7 separate regions of the Homo sapiens genome follow, and regions 2, 3, 4, 5, 6 and 7 are each linked to region 1. The links are contacts of gene promoters, found by promoter capture Hi-C in blood cells and fetal thymus (Javierre and others, 2016). All regions are on one chromosome and are shown on one strand. The core of a region is centred on a gene start or on the middle of the fragment in contact, and the rest is flanking DNA. Distances in the headings are between cores, read along the strand shown.

Region 1 (3,069 bases), core at 277-2,776:
CATAAATTAGAACAGAAAGGACTAAGCAAAGGTCTTCCACCATTTTAACGAGAGGAAATGGCATCAGTACAATCAACATACACAATTTTTACAAACAACTTTTAGATTTGCATCTACATACATTTTAAAAGGCAGTGTGCCTGTTTATAAATCTCTACTCTAATTTAGTTTCAGAGCTTTTTACTACCCTGATCACTGATAATGCCACAGTCAAAAAGCAAACTCAAAATAAAAATCAATCTAAAAATGGTACTGCATGCCAAATAAGAAAATATATACACTTTATCATTAAGCTACAGCTAACAGAAATCTAATCAACGATCCTTATGATTTCCTCGTATCTAAAAAATAAATGCAAGCACTTGAGGAACTGTATAAATACAGGGCATCTACCCTACAATACTGCTTTATTAAAATAATAAATTCTTTTAATAAGTTTAACCAGACATAAGGCTCAGGGAAAACTACTCTGTGCATATCAGCGTACGGTGCTGAAACTGTAAAAGACGACCTGTCTCTGACATCATACTCATCTTTACTCTCCTGATGTCGTAAGGGACGTAAGAAAAACCACATTATAAGCCTAAATGTACTGTCTTCAAGTATCTCCATGATTAAAGTGTTCCTAAGAAACCGTCCTTATTTCTTTCTATCCCTCATTTGTGTGCATGGAGCCGTTAGTTCAGGGTTCTCCAATTTCAGTCCACGATTTATGCCACATTTCCGTACCTCTTGTACTAACATAACCGTTTAAACCAACTCACTATTTTAAAAGCTGCCAACCTTAACATGCCACACTAAATGAGCGGGTCCCCTTGTGCCGTGAATGAAGTAGTCCCAACAGCGCTAGCTAGACAGCAGCCCTGGCAGGGAGGCCGCACTGGGGTCTCTCCGCTGAAAAGGAAGGTGGGTCCGCCGGGGAAGGTGAGTACTGGGCGCAGCTCGCTCGCCCACCTGGCCACTCTCCGAAGCGCCCCCAGCCACCTGGACTCCGAGGAAGGGCTGACCACCTGGCGGGGCCGAACCCCACGCCGGGCTGCGCCACGCCAGACTCCGCCAGTGTGCAGGGCATAGCGGGCCAGGCCGAGGGACTGGGCTTCGGGGCGGACCCAAGCCGGCGGGGACGCGCCTGGTGGTTCGCAGGCCGTTGCGCAAACCGGCCGCAAGCCATGAGGCCGCGAAGCCAGAATCACCAAGGCAGCCTGGGCCGCCTCCAGACCAGGACACGGCAGCCCCTTGCCCCTCCAACTTGCGCACCGGCGGTTACAGGGTTGCCGCAAGCACGCCCCTGAGCCTTCCCGCCGTTACCTCGGGCCGGCGCTGCGCACGCGCGCCACCGCTAAGCTTACGTCCAGCCTCTGTAGTCGGCGCGTTTGTTCCGCCCACTGCCCCCACACTTTTAATAATTGAAACAATGCCTTCTCCAGACTTCCCCTGCACGCGAGCAAATGAACTCACCCACATCCGGGAATCCGAGGAAAGCGAGTGCAGACACGTGATGCGGGGGAGGGGGGGGGGGCGTGGCAGGAGCAAGCGTCTGCCGCGGTGGCCGGGTGCCGGTAAGGGTTTCCAGCGCCCCCGGCCTAGGTTTTGGAGGCGCGGGAATGCGTTCGTTGCTCAGTGTCGGACTTCCCCCTATTCCCATCGGCCGAGGCTGTCACTTTACGCTCATAACCGTTTTTCTTTACTGCACTCGTGTCGGGAGGAAAGGGACTTGCGTGGCACCCCCAGACCTCCCCGTCTCCGCTTCCACGTTTGGTACATCCTGCCTGAGGCAGGAAGCCGCAGCTGAGGGACGGCCTGTCGTACGGTGCGGATGGTGGTGGCCTGCGAGGCTCATTTCTAGCAAGGAACAAGGCTTTCCCGCTTTGATTTTATAAATATTATGTTTACAAAGCTGTAATATATAGAAATTGATAAGACGTGTCCCTGTCCCTGGAAACGCAGGCACCGCGTGTTTGGAAAGACATTCATCTGGGCTGTTTGACAGACTCCCCAGTTGGTGCCATGCTCTGTGCTTAGGGAACTGTGAGACCCCTGGAGGGGTGGGTACCGGGACCGCACTCAGCCTGGGGTTTGGAGGCGGCCTCCTATAGGAAGCGACCTGGGACCTAAGATTTTTAGACTGACTGTGGGTTCACTGGAATAAAAAGGAAGAAACAAAGAGCATTGCAGGCATCGGGACTGTCACGTGAGTAAGAAAAGTTTGTTCAGGAAACAGTGGTCGTACTGGGTGACGAGTACTTGGGACGGTGGCTTTAATACACAAGATAATCAGTGTGCCCTGGGCATTGATTATCTTGATGCTTCCCATCCTTCCAGCCCCTTATGAGGGAAGGCACCTTCGCGCCTAATCCCGGAAATGGGATGTTGACCTTCAAGAGCTGACGCCTGCGTTTATCTTGAAAGGAAGAGTGGCATTAGTGATGTGGAAAAGGGGGTTTTAACTGTCAAGGCTGGAAAATGTGACAGGGTTGGAGGTGTTTGGAGAAGGGACAGGTGAAAAAGATTGAGACCAAATGTGGAAAGATCTACTAAGGAATCATGGGTACAAAATGTACACGTAACAGTTGGAGGCAATAATACCTGAGCAATTGACCACAAAGCTGACCTAGCTTGTTTAGTAGATTAAGTTAGGACAAGAAGCAAGAGTTCAAGGATAGAAGGCCTACTGAAGCTCGAGTGATTTGAGAAAACTTTACAAAGGTGGAAAATCTACGTGGGCCTCCGAAAGTCAGGTTTGGATCAGCTGAGGAAAGTGAGAAGGGTATCCCAGGAGACAGAGCAGCAAGGACAAAGGAGTAGCAGCAGGAAAGTGGGGAGCACTTGTAAGACAGGGACTTCAAAAGTATAACCAAAACTTCGTCTTGCTTTGAGTTATCCACTGGGTAGTACTCGGTTAATTATTGAGTACTGGATTAATTAAGCCCTCACCTGGCTCACCGGTGACAGAAGTAGCAGGGCGCATTTTGCTTAACTTTTGCCGAGATCCTTGTCATGGGGGTGTAAACCCTTTCCCACACCAATCTGTGTATAATTTTTGCCAAGGTGTTAGGGATATCTTGCAGT
Region 2 (3,069 bases), core at 181-2,680, 4.9 Mb before region 1:
TCCCTCTGATTATCATTATCTACACACACAAATACATAATTTTTCTTTTTGCCTTTCTGAAAATCTGGAGGTCTGAAAAGACTTTAAGATTTCTCTCAAGTTAAAAATACACGTTTGTACGTGTAACCAGAGGGCAAGTTTTCTATGGTCCACATGTTTTCTTAAAAAAAAAAAAAAAAAGGAAATACAGGAGATGTGCAGTGCGTGTGACAGGCAAATGTTCTCGAACTTTATTGTGTAGTGTAACCCCTATGGCACAGGCCCTTAGAATTCAGCCACATTAATGAAGAGATATTTTTATGTAGTAGAAAGAGCACAAACTTTGAGGTGTTTTGTTTTGAGACAGAGTCTTGCTCTGTTGCCCAGGCTGGAGTGCAGTGGCGCGATCTCAGCTCACTGCAACCTCCACCTCCTGGGTTCTAAGCGATTCTCCTGTCAGCCTCTGGAACAGCTTGGATTACAGGCGCCCGCCACCACGCCAGGCTAATTTTGTATTTTTAATAGAGACGGGGTTTCACCATGTTGGCCAGGCTGGTCTCGAACTCCTGACCTCAGGTGATCCACCCGTTTCGGCCTCCCAAAGTGCTGGGATTACAGGCGTGAGCCACCGCGCCCGGCCCAACTTTGAGGTTTTATCTGCCACTTACTATGCAGTCTTGGCTAGAACACTTAACTTCTTTGAGCCCGAGTTTCCTCATCATTAAATGGAGATAATTCAGGTTTGATGTGAAGATTTGAGAAGAAGGTATGTCTGACACACTGCCGAAGATCGATAAATATTTGTTGAATGAATAACACAGCCAGCCGAAGCTCAACAAAAGACACATACACAAACACACCCACACGGTTGGGTAGTTGCCGTCTCCCGGGGAGCTCCAGAAGTGTAAGCTCTCAGCCCTCCCTCTGACTTCAGAAGCCTGAAGCTACTAAGCCCGCAGCCCGGTGCGTCTCTTCGCAGCCTTAATCAGTGCCCGGGCAAAGGCCTGCAGAGAATTCTCTGGGCCTCGCACCAGGCCCCAAGAACACACTGGAGACTCGTTTCGCCTTCTCCCTCGCCGTTTCCCCCCTCCAGGGCCAGAGTCCGAGGAAGCCCGATAGCGGTTCTCGGCCTCCGAAACACAACTACAACACTGGGGAGCTTGCCCTGCAGTTAGCGTCCAGCGGGGATTAGGCACTTCGTTTTCCTCATCGTTTCAATCTCTATCTTCTGGTCGGGGTCCAAGCTCAGCGGCACCACGTCACGGCCCTTAGTGGTCTAGGCCACACCCCTCCTTCCCGACAGCCTCAAGTCCACTACCAGCGGTCTGGAAGGCCACGTTGCCTAGGAAACTGGGGCGGGGCTTGGGAAACGACGGCCCTGCGCGCAGTTTGCGCAGGCGCTCCGGCCCTGGCCTCTGACTATCGCGAGAATCGGCTCCCGGAAGTTCCACGTCAGTCAGTCTGACGGTCAGTGGATCGGTGGGTTTATCTCAAGGCCTGAGTAGCCGGTAACAAACGAGGGTTCCCGGGATTGGACCGACGCAGCCATGGTAGGTCCAGATCCCGTAGAAGGGAGCGGGGTCCCATAGGTTACGGCCGATTCCTGGAGCTTCTGGACTGAGGGCCGCGGTAAGCAGTGGTCTGGGCTCCCGCTGCGGCCGCCGCCTCAGGCCTTGCGGGGTCTTGGTCGTTTGATTCCAGGAAGGGAGAAGGCGGTGGGGCCTAGGGGACCGGGGTGATTTGGGGAGGCAAAGCCTGCTAGTGAGGGGTTTTGTCTCCCCTGGCGCTTGTGGCGCTTGCCAGAGCTCCTGCAGTCTGCAGCGGGATCGGTGGTGTAGGGAAACACAGAAGCCGAATGTGTTGAACTCCGTAGGAGGCTTTGGTAAAACTAAAGTTTGCCTTTAAAACGGTGGTAGTTAATCTACACTCCTGTTGGGCTTATTCTGGGGATAGTGTGTGCTGGCTACAAACTATAAACAAGCAAAGAAGCCAAAAACAAATGTATATGGAGTCAAAAATGGAATTTCAAATGCTTTGATATCTCAGCTGTTAGGTTTCTAAGGGGAGAAGAAGGGTTGGGAGGAAGGGGGTGCTGTTTATAACACTGGCTGGTGTGCTTTTATGCATTTGCAAATCCAGTGGCTGGTAAGAATAGTAATTGTTAGAGCACTTTGTTATTATCACCGTAACCCTAAAAAACGCCCTAGACTAGTTTGCACAAGAGTGTTATAATAATAAGGAAAGAAAACGATAGTATAAGAATATCTTCCGTCTCTATTGAAAATGCAAAAAAAAAAAAAAGAAATTAGCCGGGCGTGGTGGCGGGCCCCTGTAGTCCCAGCTACTCAGGAGGCTGAGGCAGGAGAATCGCTTGAACCCGGGAGGCAGAGGCTGCAGTGAGCCGAGGTCGCACCACTGCACTCCAGCCTGGGACAGAGCAAGACTCCGTCTCAAAAAAAAAAAAAAAAAAACTTGTTATGAAGCACAGAATCAAACATTTTGGAGCTTGAAGACGCTAGGGATTAAGTCCCTCATCTTAAGTTAAAAAATTTTTTTAAATTATGTTTCTACAAGGTTAATTGTGGCAAAGTTGGAACTAGGAAAAAGTTAGGAATACTCCCAGGGAAAATGCACAGAGAAACAAACATTTTTGCATAAAATTCAGTGCATTCATTCACAGACACCCCCCCCCACAATCCATGGACCTTCTTTTTTTTTTTAATTTGTTTTATAAAAAATATGGAACGCTTCACGGATTTGCGTGTCATACTTGCGCAGGGGCCACGCTAATCTCCTCTCTATGTGCTGCCGAAGCTAGCACTATCCGTGGACTTTCTTGGGCACCCAGGTTACAGTCCCTGAACAAGACCTCAAGCCTCTTAATTAGAGCACTTCGTATTACTAACTACCTGATGTAGTTTGGGTCTGCTGTGGTTGCAGTAATGGACGTTTTTGGAAAAGGCTCTTGGATCTGCCTAATTTCATTTTCTTTTGCCGTCTTTACATTTACCAGTGTATTTCTATAATGAAATATTGCCTTCATTCTTTATATATTTTAAATCCTTTGTGGAAAATACAAAACGTGAATTC
Region 3 (3,069 bases), core at 271-2,770, 4.1 Mb before region 1:
TAAGTTTCAGAGCATGACTTAAACACCAACACGTTGCCACTGTTCATCTAATCCACCTGAATTTTGCCTTAACTTAGGTTTATTCTTACTGGGGACTGAAATGGTTCGTTCAAGATAAACCGAAGTCAGTTTAAAAATTACTAGATGATAGTAGTTACTAAGATGCTCATGGTTCCCTTTTCAGCAAAGGCCCCCAGGTAGGGCCAGCCAATAATGCAAGTCACACTCAAGTGTTGACATCTTCATCTCCGGGCCGGCCCCTTATGAAGTGAGGGGGGTCTCCAGTAAAATCACTCAGGAAGCTCCTCGAGCCAAGTATTCCCAAATGCTACTTACTGGAGGTACAAAAAGGAGAATAACTTTTCTGAGGGCCATTTCACAATCTATACCAGAAGCCTTGTGGTATAGACCGTGGATTCTATCTTGTTTTAGAACGAATCTTGTGCGATTCTTTCTACAGAAATGATCACGCTCAAAAACCCAGATACAACGATGCTCAATGAATTACTTTTTGCAATAACTAAAAACTGAAAACCACTTGTACGCTCACCATCAGGGAGAAACTACATTTAGTAAATCACAGTCCAAAGCCATGCCAAGAGTCAGGGATGGATGAGGTAGTCAACCTGACACACAGGAATGTACAGTCGAGAGAGAGAGAGAGAGAGAGAGAGAGTCGAGAGAGAGAGAGAGAGAGTCGAGAGAGAGAGAGTCGAGAGAGAGAGAGAGAGAGAGAGAGAGAGAGAGAGAGAGAGAGTTTCAGCACTTTATGATGCAGGTTCTGCAAAAACAAGCCCCGCTCATGTTACAAGGAAAAACCATCTGGAAGAATATACACCCTCATGTTAACGCAGCTTGTCTCTGGGGAGCAGCGGCACGGCTGCTTTGCTTGCTTCCTTGCTTTCTGTTCCACGTTTTCGACAGTGAGAAGTATTATCTTTAGAGGTCGCGAACAGGCCGGAGGAGGGTGCGGCAGGTCGCGGGGCAGGGCCTCGCTAGGCAGGGACGCCCCCGCACCGCCCCGGGCTGGCCCCGCGCCCCGCGCCCCGCCGCACCTCCACCTTTGCCGGCGGTGAGCGGGAGCCGCGTCCCGCCCCGAGGTCTGGGATCACCGGCGGGCCGGCTGGAAGCGTCCGGAACTCACCCAGCGTCTCACCCGCGCGGGTCTCACCGACCGCGCAAACACCGCCCGCCGCCGCCGCCCAGAGATGGCCGCCGCCGGCGCAGCAGGGCCGAGAGCGTGGGGACGCCGGGGGGCTGAGTGCAGGGGTTTCCAGGGTGCGGAGCGGGCGGGCCCGAGGCGTCCGGGCGGGCGCAGGCGCGACACCGACCCCACCCGGTCTGCTGCCTCACCTGTGCTCTGTGGGCCGCGGGAGGCTCTGGGGTAGGTTTCACCAAACAACCGGTTGGTTCCGACTCGGCTGCGTAGGCCGCGTGGCCTTGCTCCCCTGGCCGAGAAACAGGCGCAGCCGGCGCGGAGGTTGAAAGCTCTGCAGGCGCGAGTACCAAACGCGCCGACTGTTTGTCGCGCCTCTCAGGTCCCCTGGGGCGACCAGCGCAGGAGGCCACCCCTCCCGCCGCCACGGACCCAACCCTGGTCCTCTGCCTTAGCCGAAGGCCGCACCCTCCGCGCATAGGCCTTCCTCAGCCCCAACCCAGGACATCACCATGTCCCGCAGTGCGTCCAGTCTTCCTGCCAGCAAGTGTGGGTAGGAGCCGGCCGCTGGCCCCGCTCTGGGCTAGACGGTGGGGACATACTGGCGGGCAAAAACAGCCCTGTGCCTGCTCTGCAGCTATGGGGAAGGAATATCTGTTCATGGCAGCAATAGCATTCGCTCCTTAAAACCTCTTTATGAGTCTCATTCCTTTTTTAAAGACCCAAACTACTTAAGGTGGGCATGAAGCCCCCATGTGTGATCTAGCCTCTGCCTGCTTGGCTTCATTTAGGTCCTTAAAGGATGCAGGTTTCTTCTCGCCCAGGGCCTCTGCAAATGCTCTTCTCTCTGCCTGGACACTCCTCACCTCTTCCCTATTGTGAGAGTTCTTCATATATCATTTCTTAGATTACACTATCCTGGCCCATAAGACTTGCAGCATTGCTGGGTGTGGTGGCTCATACCTGTAATCACGGCATTTTGGGAGGCAGAGTGGCGGATCTCTTGAGTCCAGGAGTTCAAGACCAGCCTGGGCAACATGGTAAAAAAAAAAAAAAAGAGAGAGAGAGAATGAGAAAGAAGAAAAGAAAATAATTAGCGGCTCAGGCCTGTAATCCTAGCTACTTGGGACGCTGAGGTGGGAGAATTGCTTGGGCCCTGAAGGGAGGTAGAGGCTGCAGAGAGCTGTGATTGCACCACTACACTCCAGCCTGGGCAACAGAGCGAGACCCTGTTTCATTAAAAAAAACACACACAAAAAGAAACAGCCGGGCTCAGTGGCTCACGCCTGTAATCCCAGCACTTTGGGATGCTGAGGCAGGCATGGCAAAACCCCGTCACTACTGAAAATATAAAACTTAGAGGGGCGTGGTGGTGCATGCCTGTAGTCCCAACTACTTGGGAGGCTGAGGCAGGAGAATCGCTTCAACCTGGGAGGTGGAGGTTGGAGTGAGCTGAGATTGAGCCACTGCACTCCAGCCTGGGCGAAGAGCAAGACTCTGTCTCAAAAAAAAAAAAAAAAAAAAACAGCCGGGCACAGTGGCTTACACCTGTAATCCCAGCACTCTGGGAGGCCAGGTGCGGATTGCCTGAGGTCAGAAGTTTGAGACCAGCCTGGCCAACGTGGTGAAACCCTAGCTCTACTAAAAATACAAAAATTAGCCGGGCGTGGTGGCATGCGTCTGTAATCCCAGCTACTCAGGAGGCTGAGGCAGGAGAATCACTTGACCTTGGGAGGTGGCAGTTGCAGCGAACTGAGATCGCCTCACTGTACTGCAGCCTGAGCCACAGAGTGATACTTCGTCTCAAAAACAAAAACAAAAAAAACACAAAAATTGCAGCACCAGGGATTCTTCTTCCTAGCCCCTTTCAGGGTGTGCAATAATTTGTGTAATTTTTGCTTAATGTGTAACTT
Region 4 (3,069 bases), core at 212-2,711, 3.7 Mb after region 1:
GTGTATATGTGTGGCATTTATTTCCTGCAAAACCTGAGTTAGCAGAACCCTGGGGTACGTTTAGCTAGTGTATACTTTGGTCTGCTTTTCTTTAACATCTGTGGCAAGGTTTCTTGTTGCAGACCAGCGAAGTTTGCACCTTCTTTTAGCTGGGTGAGAGGGCACACTGGAATTAGGCAGGAAGTGTCCAGGAGTTAACTGAATTTTTAGATCTTAGTTTGACCTTTTCAGTTTTCAGTTTTTCTTTTTTTTTTTTTATTTTTTGAGACGGACGGAGTCTCGCTCTGTCACCCAGGCTGGAGTGCGGTGGCGGGATCTCCACTCACTGCAACCTCTGCGTCCTGGGTTCAAGCAATTCTGCGTCAGCCTCACGAGTAGCTGGGATTACAGGCACCCACTACCACGCCCGGCTAATTTTTGTATTTTTAGTAGAGACGGGATTTTAACCATGTTGGCCAGCCCCGTCTTGAGCTCCTGACCTCGTGATCCTCCCGCCTCGGCCTCCCGAAGTGCTGGGATTACAGGCGTGAGCCACCGCGCCCGGCCAGTTTTAAGCTTTTAATGTGTCTCTTTCTTATTTCCAAGAAACTACAGATTCTTGGACAAGAACTATGTCATATGGTAACTTTGTAATTCTCATAGCCCCAAGCACAGCACGGAACACATAGTAAAGGCTCATTAATATTTTAAATTTAAATATGAGAAAATAACACAAACTAACATTTTTGGCTTAAAGTTGAAGAGGCCTATCTAAATATAGTTCAGCTCCTGGAAATGGCGATGCGCAATAGCAGGGTATTTTTAGGTAAAATAACAAGGTCTTCTTGGAGAAAATAACATGGTCTTTTTAGATAAATGTGTGTGAAATTTAGAGGCTGCCCCAGAAGGCTAGGTACAGTGCTGTTAGTGGAAGAGAAGTATGCTGCATCTGTCTTTTTGGAAGAGACCAAATAATGGAATAATGGTGTTTCACAGCTTCTTTGTTTCTTGTCTTTTTTCTTCATTTGTTTTTATTTTAAACAGGTATTATATCCTAACCTTACTAAAGACCACAGAGGTGCTTGCCATTATGGGAAATCAGCTTGCTGGCATTGCTCCCTCCCAGATCCTTTCTGTAGAGAGTTATTTTTCAGATATTCATGACTTTGAATATGATAAAAGCCTGGGGAGTACTCGGTTTTTTAAAGTTGCTCGAGCCAAGCACCGAGAAGGCCTGGTCGTTGTGAAGGTTTTTGCAATTCAGGATCCCACATTGCCTTTAACCAGCTATAAACAAGAGCTGGAGGAACTGAAAATCAGGCTTAATTCTGCACAGAATTGTCTACCTTTCCAGAAAGCATCAGAAAAAGCATCTGAGAAAGCAGCTATGCTCTTTAGGCAGTATGTGCGAGACAATCTCTATGATCGCATCAGTACCCGTCCATTCTTGAATAACATTGAGAAGCGCTGGATTGCTTTCCAGATCCTGACAGCTGTGGACCAAGCACACAAATCTGGAGTTCGTCATGGGGACATCAAGACTGAGAATGTGATGGTCACCAGTTGGAATTGGGTTCTTCTAACTGATTTTGCCAGTTTTAAGCCCACTTATCTTCCAGAAGACAACCCGGCAGATTTCAATTATTTCTTTGACACATCACGGAGGAGAACTTGCTATATTGCTCCTGAACGTTTTGTTGATGGTGGGATGTTTGCCACTGAGTTAGAATATATGAGAGATCCTTCAACTCCGCTTGTAGACTTAAATAGCAATCAGAGAACAAGAGGAGAGTTGAAGAGAGCAATGGACATCTTTTCAGCAGGTATTTGAGTGGGTCACATTTGCTAAGGGAGCATGTGTTTTTCTTTTAACTGTTAAACAGAAATGTGGCTTTTTTTAGTCACCAGATATTGAAAAGTTAATGTCTTGGTTTGTCCTCAGACGCTATTTCAGTTAGAGGCAGCATTCCTGCATTGGATATGTTTAAATGCCTAGGAAATGCAAACAGCAGTTTATTTACACAAACATATAAACATATTTGCTTGCCTACTTTTATTGTATGTGTCAGGCACTGTCCTAAGTGCTAGGGATATTGGTGGATAATATATTTTCATAATGCTTCCATTTTAAAGTGACCGTGGATATTGCAAAAGGACATTTCAATGCGGTGTTGATTGCTGTGGTGGTGATAAGCATAGGGTGCTGCTATAGGAACACATAGATATTTAAATTAGTCCTCATGGTGGTGTTGAGTCAAGAGGTGGGATCAAGAAAGGCCTCTTTAATAGAAAGATGATATTTACATTGAAACCTGAAAGTTGATTGGGAGTTAACTTTCGTAGAGTAGTTTGTTTCAGGCAGAGGATGTTGCCTATACAGAAGCTTAAAGACCAGAATATGATGCACTGATGTGTTTTCTGGAACACAGTGTGAATTAAGCAAGGCCCAAACTCAGCCAGATCAGAAAGGGTCTGGCCTGACTGGAGCATGGAGAGTGAATTTTGCAGGGGAGCTACACAGAAGACAGGAAAACAAGTTAGGAGAAAACTGCCACAGTCCAGGTAAGATGATTGTGACCGGCTTAAGATTGTGGCAGAGTTGGAAGGAGTGGAGAGAAGTGGTAATGCTTAAGAGATAATTAGTAGATAGAATTGTTAGGATTCTGTCATTGGAAGGTGAAGTCACAGGAACTTCTCTCGCCCACCAAACTGAGTGGATGGTGATGCTGGTCCCTGAGACAGGGAGACACAGGAGGAGCAACAGGTTAGGTTGGGAAGATGATGAGGTCTGTTTAAGATATGGTAAGTTTGAGATTTCTGCCAAGTATGCAGGAGAAGATGTACAACATGTATTTGGTTATATTTTTATTTATTTTTAATTTATTATTATTTTTTAGAGGTAGGATCTCACATTGTTGCCTAGGTTGGTGCCCAGTGGTGCAATTGTAGCTCACTTCAGCCTCCAACTCCAATGATCCTCTTGCCTCAGCTTTCTTTGTGTAGCCGGGACTGCAGGCGTGCACCACCACACCCAGTTGACTTTTTTTTTTTTTAACATTTTTGGTAGAGACTATTTTACTGTGTTGCCCA
Region 5 (3,069 bases), core at 371-2,870, 3.7 Mb before region 1:
TAGGTAAACAGTATTTCCTTAGTTGCAGTTTAAAAATAAGAAAAAATGACTGCTAAAATGGATCAGGGGAAAAATCTGTTGACAGCCTCACAAAATTATTATTGTATTGACAACTTAAGCCTTTTCAAGGTTGAGGTCTGCCACACTGCTCTAACCCTGAATCATAAGCAAATGTCCTAGGTGTTTTCAGATAGGTGAGTTTGTTTGTGGGACAAGTCAGAGAAGAGAAAAGAAACCGGTTGTAGTTACAAGACTCTAGGAACCCGACAAGTCATTTATAATCCAACTACCCTCTCAGTATCAGACTGGCTTCCACAAGTCTAAAAGATGGTCAATCAGTATTTGCCTGCTTGTTTCCAACAATAGCAAATGAACCATTGGTAAACTGACCATTCTCAGAGTCGGACAGCTCGAATTTGTTGCAAAATCCTTCGAAGTTATCTCCCAGTAACTTTCATTCCTGGTCCTGGTTCAAGAGCAACATAGTGAAAGGTGAAAGTCGTCTTTTTCTTTAAAAAAACTTTTTTTAAAAAAAAAAAAAACAGGTTTTACTTCCTGGCATGTCAATACGTTCCCTTCTTTCAACAATGGGGAAATAAATCTCACCCCCTTTTCCCCCCTTCAATGTTTGACTCCCCTTAAAGAAAAACGGAATACCAGGCACAGGGAACATAGAGTTCCTCTGACTCAGAGCCGCGACCTCTGAGCAGAGCGGAGGAAAGGGGCTTAAAAAACCACACACACTAGGAAGAGTTGCAGCTGATACGAATCACCATTGCCAAAAAGCAAACTGCTTCAGCCGGTGCCCAGGTGCTGGGACGCGATAGAAGCCGCACAGACTTGGCCTGGCAGCTCTGAGGAAATGGGGGCCAAGGAGCCTGCACCTCTTCTTGCCAAAGCCCGGGAGAGCTGAGTGGGCGCTCGTTCTCAGGCCGGCTGCAAGCCCGGCGCTTCACAAGGCAGAGCGTTCGGCCCCCGGGAAGCGGCATCGCTAAAAGGAAGGCTCAGTGAAACGCTTGGCAAAGTCCAAGCCGCGCCGCCCAGCCAGTTGTCTATAAGCCCAGCCACCCCGCCTGCCAGACGCCATCCTGGGAACCCGCACCGGCGGGAGCTCCCGGAGTTGGAAACGTCTTTGGCTCGGCCGCGGTCCCCTCTGCCCGTCTATCCCGCCTCTCCACCCTCGCTCACTCCCTGGCCCGAGACTGAGCCGGGGTCCACCCCAGGGGGTGGTGCCCAGGAGGCACACCACGCTTGGGGGAATGGTGGAGACCGGGATGAGGCTTCCTGGAGGGCGGGCGGGCGGCCGCGGCGGGTCACTCACCGAAAGGACGCTCATGCGGATTGGGGTCTCCAACAAGCACGCCATCTTGAGCCTTCCCACCCGGCTGCTGCAGGCGCCGGCGCGGGGGCCGGCACTTTCGACAGCCAACTATTGGCCAACGCTAGGCACCGCTCCCTAAAGGCAGCCAGATAGACGAGAACTGGCCACGCTCTGGACACCGCTCAAGTACCGGAAAGGCCCGCAGAAAGAAGGGCAAAAGGGAATGGCGTCAGGGGCTGTCCTACGAATCGTTCTCTCAGAAACAGCAGCTACTCTGAGCCTGGGTTAGAGGTGGAAGCGGGCAGCGGTTTCCGCATGCGCAAAGAAGATCTGCCGGCCCCACCTGCCGCTCGCGGTGGGCGGGGCCCCAGAGGCGGAGTCTCGCCCTGACGCTACGAGTTTTACGGACTGATAAATTGCAGTTTATGGATTCCAGTATTCATATTTGGAAAAAGTAGTACGTGGAGCCACATACATAGTTTGAAGTTCACTTTCATATTCATTCTCTCTCTCTGCACCAAACTCCCGGCGTCGTTATCTCCATTTTATAGGTGGGGAAATTGCGATCCCAGAACCTTTGCCAACCGTAAGAGTGATTGTTTCACGATCCGATACAGATACGTGACTTGCCTTAGCGTTGTGTGCCGGCCCCGTTTATTCTGGTGTAGTGTTAAGAATAGCCAGAATGCTTGGGTTTCTTCCTAGCTACTTGATTTATCAGCTGCTTTACCCTGGGCAAGTTATCTAACCTTCTGTTTGAGTTTCCTCATCTATAAAATAAAGGTTAATGAGGATAGAGGAGTCAACAAACGTGAAGCTCTCAGAAAAAACCTAGAACATAGAAAGCGTTATACAATATGTGTTAACATTTCTCCAGCTTCTGAGTTAAGTGGGGAAAATGGGGGCAAATATCTAAATATTTCGCACTAAAACACTCTCATAACCGAAGCTAAATAAAAGTATGCTTTCAATTATACTTGATTAATTCAGCTGTCCTACTACTTTGTGTGTGTGTGTGTGTGTGTGTGCAACACTGCCCTTGACTTGGTTGGATAAGTTTCACCTTCGTACTGCTTGCAACCAGTAAGGTTTTCACAGTATGGTTGCAATTGGCCTGTTAACATTACTTGTATTCCTTCCATTTCTATAGCCACACCCTAATTCAGGCTCTTGTAACCTCTCCCCTGGACTACAGCAATAGCCTTCCAACTGGTCTTGTAGCTGGTAGCCTCTCCCGCACTCTGCTCCTCACTGTTTTCCTGTCTTCCTCCTGTACTTGGTTTCCAAATTTAGTGTAGCATTTACCACCCCTGCTTATGGGTCTGTGTTCCTTAACAAACTGTTGAATTCCTGGAAGGCAGGAATTTTATTTTAGGTAGTCCTTCTGCTATAATACTATTTCTGAAACTTGGGTAATCTGTACACCACCTACACAATCTTTGCCAATCTGCACCTAGGTATTATTATTCATTCAATATTTTTATTTAAAGCCAATTTCAACTCATTAAAAATTTTTGGCTTTATCCTAAACCATAATACTCTGTGAAATCAAGTTTGTTGTGCTCCTTATTTTTATTCTAGTACACATTAACTACAAAAAGTTTAAATGTCCATCCATGGACCACCTAAAATCACATCATGTACTGCATACTGCAATGGGGCAGAACATAACCCTAATACATAGTATATAGAGTCATTATAACTGTATTTGATCCACACTCCATCCATTAGCTCAAGCAATACATCCT
Region 6 (3,069 bases), core at 219-2,718, 3.7 Mb before region 1:
ACATGATATTTTGGAGACCTGTGTATATGTCTTTGTATTTGCAGTATTTAAGGAAATTAAATATAGCTTATTTTTCTGCTTCAATCTAAGGTCATTTTGAGTGCCCCCCTTATAATTCATCTACAATCAGGAGTATATATCATGTGAGAAATATTGAAGTCTATAAATTAAAACAGGTACGTAAAAAGCGCATTACAGCAGACTTGAAAACATTTTAAAGTAATTCTGTGCCAAAATGTATTTTGGTCATATTGGTATACTACTTTCAAGAAGAGCAATTCTGTATTTTTAAAATGTGGATCTTGAGTTTTTAGGAGGTTCACAGATGAACCTTTTTTTTTTCTTTTTTTGAGACAGAGTCTCACTATGTCACCCAGGCTGAAGTGCAGTGGCGCGATCTCGGCTCACTGCAACCTCCGCCTCCTGGGTTCAAGCAAGTCTTGTGCCTCAACCTTCTGAGTAGCTGGAACTATGGGCGCACACCACCACACCTGCCTAATTTTTTGTATTTGTAGTAGGGATGGGGTTTCACCATGTTTGCCAGGCTGGTCTCAAATTCCTGACCTCAGGTGATCCGCCTGCCTTGGCCTCCCAAAGTGCTGGGATTATAGGTGTGAGCCACTGTGCCCGGCAAAATTTTTTTTACTTCAATAATTACGAGTTTATTTTAGTAAGAATGAAAGATTTAATTCATGATTTCAAATATTACTTAGGTTAAGGCTAAAGAATACCTATTAAAGTGATATTTAAAATAAAATGTTAAAGTGATATTTTAAAGAAAATATTGAAATAAACATTTTATTTTATGTAATAGTAATTAAGTAATGGTATTAAATAGAAAATAAGTAATAGTAAAGATGATAGAGGAAATGGGAAAATTGTGAAGGTGGTATGGAAACACTGCTTAATTGCAGAGTAGGTGAAACTAGGTTGTTTGAGAACCCATTACATGGCTGACACTGGGCTAAACAGACTTCACACTTGGTATTTCATATAATCTCCACTCAAACCCTATGAAATAGATGTAACTCTTAACTTCATCCCTTTAAGGATGAGAAGCCAAGGCTCAGACAGGTAAGTAACCTGCCCAGGACTTCCCAAAGTTTAGTGGTAGAGCCTGCCTGACTGCACTCATGCCCATCACACTGTCTCTAGAGCCTCTGCAGGAGTCTAACAATTCTTGCAAGTGTTTCTTTTATGCCCTGTGCATACAGTTCCCTTAAATAGATTTTCTCTTTCACCTATCTAAATCCTACCAGTCCTTTAAGACCCAACTTAGATGCCATTTCCCAACCATGAGTTTTCTTCTTTTTTTTTTTTGAGACAAGGTCTCACTCTGTCACCCAGGCTGGAGTGCAGTAGTATGATCATGGCTTGACTCACTGCAGCCTCAATCTGCCAGGCTTGGGTGATCCTCCCACTTCAGCCTCCCGAATAGCTTGGACTATAGGCATGCATCACCTCGCCCAGCTAATTTTTTTCATATTTTTTAGAGACAGAGTTTCGCCATGTTGCCCAGGCTGGTCTCAAACTCTTGAACTCAAGCGATCCTTCTGCCTTGGCCTCCGAAAGTGCTGGGATTACAGGCATGAGCCACCATGCCCAGCCAGCCATGACTTCTCTAGTTTAGAGTCATTACCCTAGTTTGAATTTTTGTTGCATCTGTTGGCCATACCAGTTATTCAGTGGTTAGTCATATCTATCTAATATCTAATATTTTGTATTGTCTTGAGCAGTTATTTAAGTTTTTTTTTTTTTTTTTGAGACAAAGTTTCACTTCTGTTGCCCAAGCTGGAGTGCAACAGTGCGATCTTGGCTCACTGCAACCTCTGCCTCCTGGGTTCAAGCGATTCTCCTGCCTCAGCCTCCTGAGTAGCTGGGATTACAGGCGCCCACCACCACGCCCGGCTAATTTTTTGTATTTTAAATAAAGATGGGGTTTCACCATGTTGGCCAGGCTGGTCTCGAACTCCTGACCTTCAGGCGATCCACCCACCTCGGCCTCCTAAAGTGCTGGGATTACAGGCGTGAGCCACTGTGCCCAGCCGGTATTTAAGTTGTTTTAATTTCATTTTTCAAGTATTCGTTTCAGATTACTTGAAGGTTCTGGGGATAAGTAAAGTCTGGAGTATATTTTGTTTCCTTAAGTTGTTTAATGAAATACTAATTTATGTAGTAAACACAGTTTTTTAGTGTATACTATGTGAGCCTATTAGAATTTTTTTTTTCCTGGTAAATCTTTGGGTTTACTGAATCAGTCATGTTAGAGGTCTCGTGAAATCTAGTGTCTCTGGATCTTCAAAACAGTAATTTCTTTTTTCTTTTTTTTCTTTTTGAGATGGAGTTTCACTCTTGTGGCCCAGGCTGGAGTGCAATTGCATGATCTCGGCTTATTGCAACCTCCACCTCCTGGGTTCAAGCGATTCTCCTGCCTCAGTCTCCCTAGTAGCTGGGATTACAGACAGATGCCACAACGTCCAGCTAAATTTTTGTATTTTTAGTAGAGATGGGGTTTCACCATGTTGGTGAGGCTCGTTTCGAACTCCTAACCTCAGGTGATCCACCTGCCTCAGCCTCCCAAAGTGCTGGGATTATAGGCGTGAGCCACCGCGCCCGGCCCAAAATAATAATTTCTTTACCAAAGAGGAAAAGAACTATGGTTATCGTGTATTTTAGAAGCTAAGTGCTAAAGATCTTAGATGACTGGCAGTCTAATCAGAGTCTGTCTCCATTGCCTTGCCTTGCCACTGAAAATAAGAATGATTTATGAGCAGAGAAAATGCAGCTTCTCTTTGCCTAGATGAATGAGTTGCCTAGTATTTTTATCACTCTCTTAAAGTGTCCTTAGAATGAATTATACAGAATTCTAGAGATCTCAGTGGGTGAATGGTTGTATGGTGGTAGAGAGAAGGGAGGGGATTGTTTTGGTTAATCTGTTTTAAGAGTTTTCTTTCTTTCTCTTTTTCTCTTTTGAAAGCTGAAGCAGCCTATAGATATATTCTTGTCTCATGATTGGCCAAGAAGTATATATCATTATGGAAATAAGAAGCAACTTCTTAAGACTAAATC
Region 7 (3,069 bases), core at 354-2,853, 3.6 Mb after region 1:
AAAAAAAAAAACAAAAAAAAAAAACGTGAAGCCTTGAAATTAGCAGTTAAAAGACCAAAAGTAACTCCCCTAAATCTATTCATCAAGTAAGGTAAGGGAAATTAGGATTTGCTGAGAGGCTCTTTCATGCCAGGCACTTGTACACACCCTGCCTGGTCTAATTCTAACAAACCTGAAGTAGTCATAATCTCTTTACAAGTGAGGAAACCAAGGCTTAGAGGAGTCAACTTCCTTGCCGTTTGTTAGAACAGTGTTTCTCAATCTTGGCACCATTGACATCTGGGGCTAAAAAATTTTGAGGGTGGCGGGGGGAGGTAGAAGATGCTGTCTTACGGATTGTAGCATGCTTACCAGCATCCCTGGTCTCTACACACTGGATGCCAGTAGCATACTTTGAGTTGTGACAACCCAGCATTTCTCTAAACATTGCCAAATGTCCCCCGGGGGCAAAACAATCCTGAGATGAGAACCACTTAGAAGGAAGAAGCCAGCATTTTCATTCAATTGACAGTAGGTACGTCCCAGAGTCTGTTCAAGATGAATAAAGGACAAATTGAGGTCTCTGCCTTCAAGAGCTCACTTTGAATCCTGGTGCTTGATTTAACACCTCTCTCCATGCATAGCTATATGAGCCTCACATCATGACAGTCTGACCTATATATTCCCTTCAGCCAGCCCCTAAATCGGCTCACTCCTTCAACCACAATCAATGGCACCTTCACTGACCCAAATGACATCTTGCAGTCATGTCTGATTCAACTATTCCCTTAATTCTCTGTATCTAGTCACTGTCCAAGTCCTGCTGATTTTTCCTAGGAGTAAAATATCTCTGTCATCCATCCCTACCCTTCATTCCCATTACTCTAATATAGATACAAACCACACTCCCTTTATCTTCTAACAGATGAAATCAGGAGTAACTAATCTCTCTTGGCCCCTCATATGAATTAGGGGTACATATCAAGATATAATAACTGATCTACCAACTTTTAGGATAGAGGGCTGGCAGACTTCAGAGCAGTCCCCAATGACCACATCTTTCTCTGGGGTGGGGAGGGATGCTGGAATTTCTCATCTGATACTAGTTTCATAAGCCAAATATTAACTCTTAAGTAAACAGTAACCCTCACAAGCATTAAGAAAAGGACACAGCAGAAATTAGTTTGCATACCACTACAAAGTGGTTTGCATGCTATTTCTGGCATTTGTGCCATGAACTGCTTTTGCCTGCTTCAAAAGAAGGTAGAACTGACACTCAACAGAGCAAGTAAGGTACAACTCCCAAGCTTAATTAAGCCAACTAATATTTCCACCCCTGATGATGTAGAAACCTAGATGAAGGCAGGTAAAGCAAACATGCTGCTAGGGAAACACTAAAAATAGATGGCCAAACAAAATCTAGTGAAATGCCTGCATACAAAGAGAGATATAAATCTCATATATAACATATACAAATAAAATCACAGCATCAAAAGGCTAATTTATTTATACTACAAATGAAAAAGGCTCCGATTTAAGATGAGAGGAAATCCAGGACCTGGTTCAAAGTTGGATCTTGCCCTTAGGCAGAGAATAACAGAACGTTTATGTACTAATGTACTAATGCTCTATTCTTTTTAACTTCAGGACACCATAACCAAGATAAATTTCTGAAATTCACAACTTAACCAAAACTTTTAATTTTTACTTTGCGTGTTTAAATTTTCAAAAAAACACATTTACATATTCAAAAAAAAAGTCTGATGAGTGACATCCTAAATATTTCCACTTATTATTTCTGAGTTTTCCTATAAAAGGCTGATGGCAAATATATTTATTATTTAGGGTCCTGCTTTTTCCAACTTTATCAAGCTGTTTTAAGTAAGTAAATAAATAAATGAAAGTAATTTCTATAAGGATGCATCAATATCTCAAAGCTTTCTAAAAGAATAAAGAATGTCATACTAAAGCTGGGCACGGTGGCTCATGCCTATAATTCCAACAATTTGGGAGGCCAAGGCAATAAGACTGCTTGAGTCCAGGAGTTCAAGACCAGCATGGGCAATATATCAAGACCTCGTCTTTAAAAAAATTAAGAAATTAGCTGGGTATAGTGATGTGTGCTTATAATCCCAGCTACTCAGGAGGCTAAGGCAGGGAGATCGCATTAGTCCAGGAGTTAGGGGCTTTGGTGAGCTATAATGATGCTACTGTGTCCCAGCCCAGCCTGGGTTACAGAGTGAGACTCCATCTCAAAAAAATAAATAAATAAATAAGCACAAAGGGAAAAAAAAGGATGTCATACTAAATTAACGTATTTCCTTCTGAGGGAGGGACACGAGTTTAGGTCAGCATGTTTACGAAATGACCAAATGTCAAACCAAAAGGCCTTTACTTAAGAAAGCAATTACAACTAACAGGTATATTAAATAATTCCAATTCACACATTCTCTAATACCTATAGCAGAATTAAAAAAAGCAGAGATAGAAATTGAATCAGACACCCAGTTACGGCCATCTTAAGATAATGCTTCTGACCCCGACTATTACTGTCTTCTGTCTATAATCTAGGACAGCTTTTCAACATTTCATTCAAACTTTTTCTAAACACATCACAGGTTTAGTCTAAACCAACCTAATTTAACACAATTGGTGTAATTTATTTGTAATTCTACGATTTATACTTTTGTCGTAGCAACTTAAAGCCTGAAGACAGAAGATACACAGTTGACTCTTTAACAACATGAGTTTCAACTGTAAAGGTCTACTTATACTCAGATTTGCTTCTGTCACCCGAGACAGCAAGACCAACCCCTCCTTTTCTTCAGCCTACTCAAAGCGAAGACAATGAGGATGAAGACCTTTATAGTGATCCACTTCTGCTTAATGAATTATAAATATATTTTCTCCTCCTCATAATTTTCTTGGTAAGTTTTTTTCTCTACTTTATTGCAAGAATACAGTATATAATACATATAGCATACAAAGTATGTGTTAATTGACTGTTTATGTTATCAGTGAGGCTTCCAGGCAACAGTAGAGACTATTAGTAGTTTAGTTTTCAGAGAGTTAAAAGTTACATGCAGATTT

Evidence for each region. Contacts are between HindIII fragments. The CHiCAGO score rates a contact against its expected background, and 5 or more counts as called.
Region 2: the fragment with the promoter of COPB2 here is called in contact with the fragment with the promoter of ANAPC13 in region 1 in 6 of 17 cell types (total CD8 T cells, total B cells, total CD4 T cells and 3 more); the score reaches 11.1 in total CD8 T cells.
Region 3: a contact is called between the fragment with the promoter of FAIM here and the fragment with the promoter of ANAPC13 in region 1, in 4 of 17 cell types (naive CD8 T cells, total CD8 T cells, non-activated CD4 T cells and 1 more). The highest score is 9.3, in naive CD8 T cells.
Region 4: a fragment that was not itself captured here is called in contact with the fragment with the promoter of ANAPC13 in region 1 in 2 of 17 cell types (total CD4 T cells and non-activated CD4 T cells); the score reaches 8.4 in total CD4 T cells.
Region 5: a contact is called between the fragment with the promoter of ARMC8 here and the fragment with the promoter of ANAPC13 in region 1, in 2 of 17 cell types (total CD4 T cells and total CD8 T cells). The highest score is 6.3, in total CD4 T cells.
Region 6: a fragment that was not itself captured here is called in contact with the fragment with the promoter of ANAPC13 in region 1 in 2 of 17 cell types (naive CD8 T cells and non-activated CD4 T cells); the score reaches 8.7 in naive CD8 T cells.
Region 7: a fragment that was not itself captured here is called in contact with the fragment with the promoter of ANAPC13 in region 1 in 1 of 17 cell types (total B cells); the score reaches 6.1 in total B cells.

Annotation. Positions count from the first base shown.
Region 1 is chr3:134,484,442-134,487,510 of GRCh38, reverse strand. It overlaps ANAPC13 (anaphase promoting complex subunit 13), which reads left to right and starts at 1,526. Exons shown (of 3, transcript NM_015391.4): 1 at 1,526-1,559. It overlaps CEP63 (centrosomal protein 63), which reads right to left and starts at 1,454. Exons shown (of 15, transcript NM_001353108.3): 1 at 1,309-1,454. RefSeq lists enhancers at 522-1,340, 1,432-1,541, 1,622-1,721, 1,752-1,871. The HindIII fragment of the contact is 3,493 bases long and covers 1,347-3,069 here.
Region 2 is chr3:139,388,008-139,391,076 of GRCh38, reverse strand. It overlaps COPB2 (coat protein complex I subunit beta 2), which reads left to right and starts at 1,430. Exons shown (of 22, transcript NM_004766.3): 1 at 1,430-1,529. The coding sequence starts at 1,527. It overlaps COPB2-DT (COPB2 divergent transcript), which reads right to left and starts at 1,274. Exons shown (of 5, transcript NR_121609.1): 1 at 1,144-1,274. It also overlaps the pseudogene LOC124906339. RefSeq lists enhancers at 593-702, 582-1,144, 913-1,212, 1,145-1,706, 1,503-1,752. The HindIII fragment of the contact is 7,530 bases long and covers 1-3,069 here.
Region 3 is chr3:138,607,222-138,610,290 of GRCh38, reverse strand. FAIM (Fas apoptotic inhibitory molecule) reads right to left here and starts at 1,520. Exons shown (of 6, transcript NM_001033031.2): 1 at 1,354-1,520. RefSeq lists an enhancer at 783-872 and a silencer at 973-1,432. The HindIII fragment of the contact is 4,797 bases long and covers 1-3,069 here.
Region 4 is chr3:130,743,219-130,746,287 of GRCh38, reverse strand. PIK3R4 (phosphoinositide-3-kinase regulatory subunit 4) reads left to right here. Exons shown (of 20, transcript NM_014602.3): 2 at 1,024-1,802. The coding sequence starts at 1,070. Among named protein-coding and RNA genes, the nearest start is that of PIK3R4, 2.1 kb to the left of the region's middle. The HindIII fragment of the contact is 1,807 bases long and covers 558-2,364 here.
Region 5 is chr3:138,185,852-138,188,920 of GRCh38, reverse strand. It overlaps ARMC8 (armadillo repeat containing 8), which reads right to left and starts at 1,620. Exons shown (of 22, transcript NM_001363941.2): 1 at 1,322-1,620. The coding sequence starts at 1,366. The HindIII fragment of the contact is 21,816 bases long and covers 1-3,069 here.
Region 6 is chr3:138,167,214-138,170,282 of GRCh38, reverse strand. It overlaps DBR1 (debranching RNA lariats 1), which reads left to right. Exons shown (of 8, transcript NM_016216.4): 4 at 91-176; 5 at 2,978-3,069. Among named protein-coding and RNA genes, the nearest start is that of DBR1, 6.2 kb to the left of the region's middle. The HindIII fragment of the contact is 4,308 bases long and covers 1-3,069 here.
Region 7 is chr3:130,899,240-130,902,308 of GRCh38, reverse strand. All of the region lies in intron 2 of ATP2C1 (ATPase secretory pathway Ca2+ transporting 1), which reads right to left. Among named protein-coding and RNA genes, the nearest start is that of ATP2C1, 6.7 kb to the right of the region's middle. RefSeq lists an enhancer at 1,075-1,124. The HindIII fragment of the contact is 630 bases long and covers 1,289-1,918 here.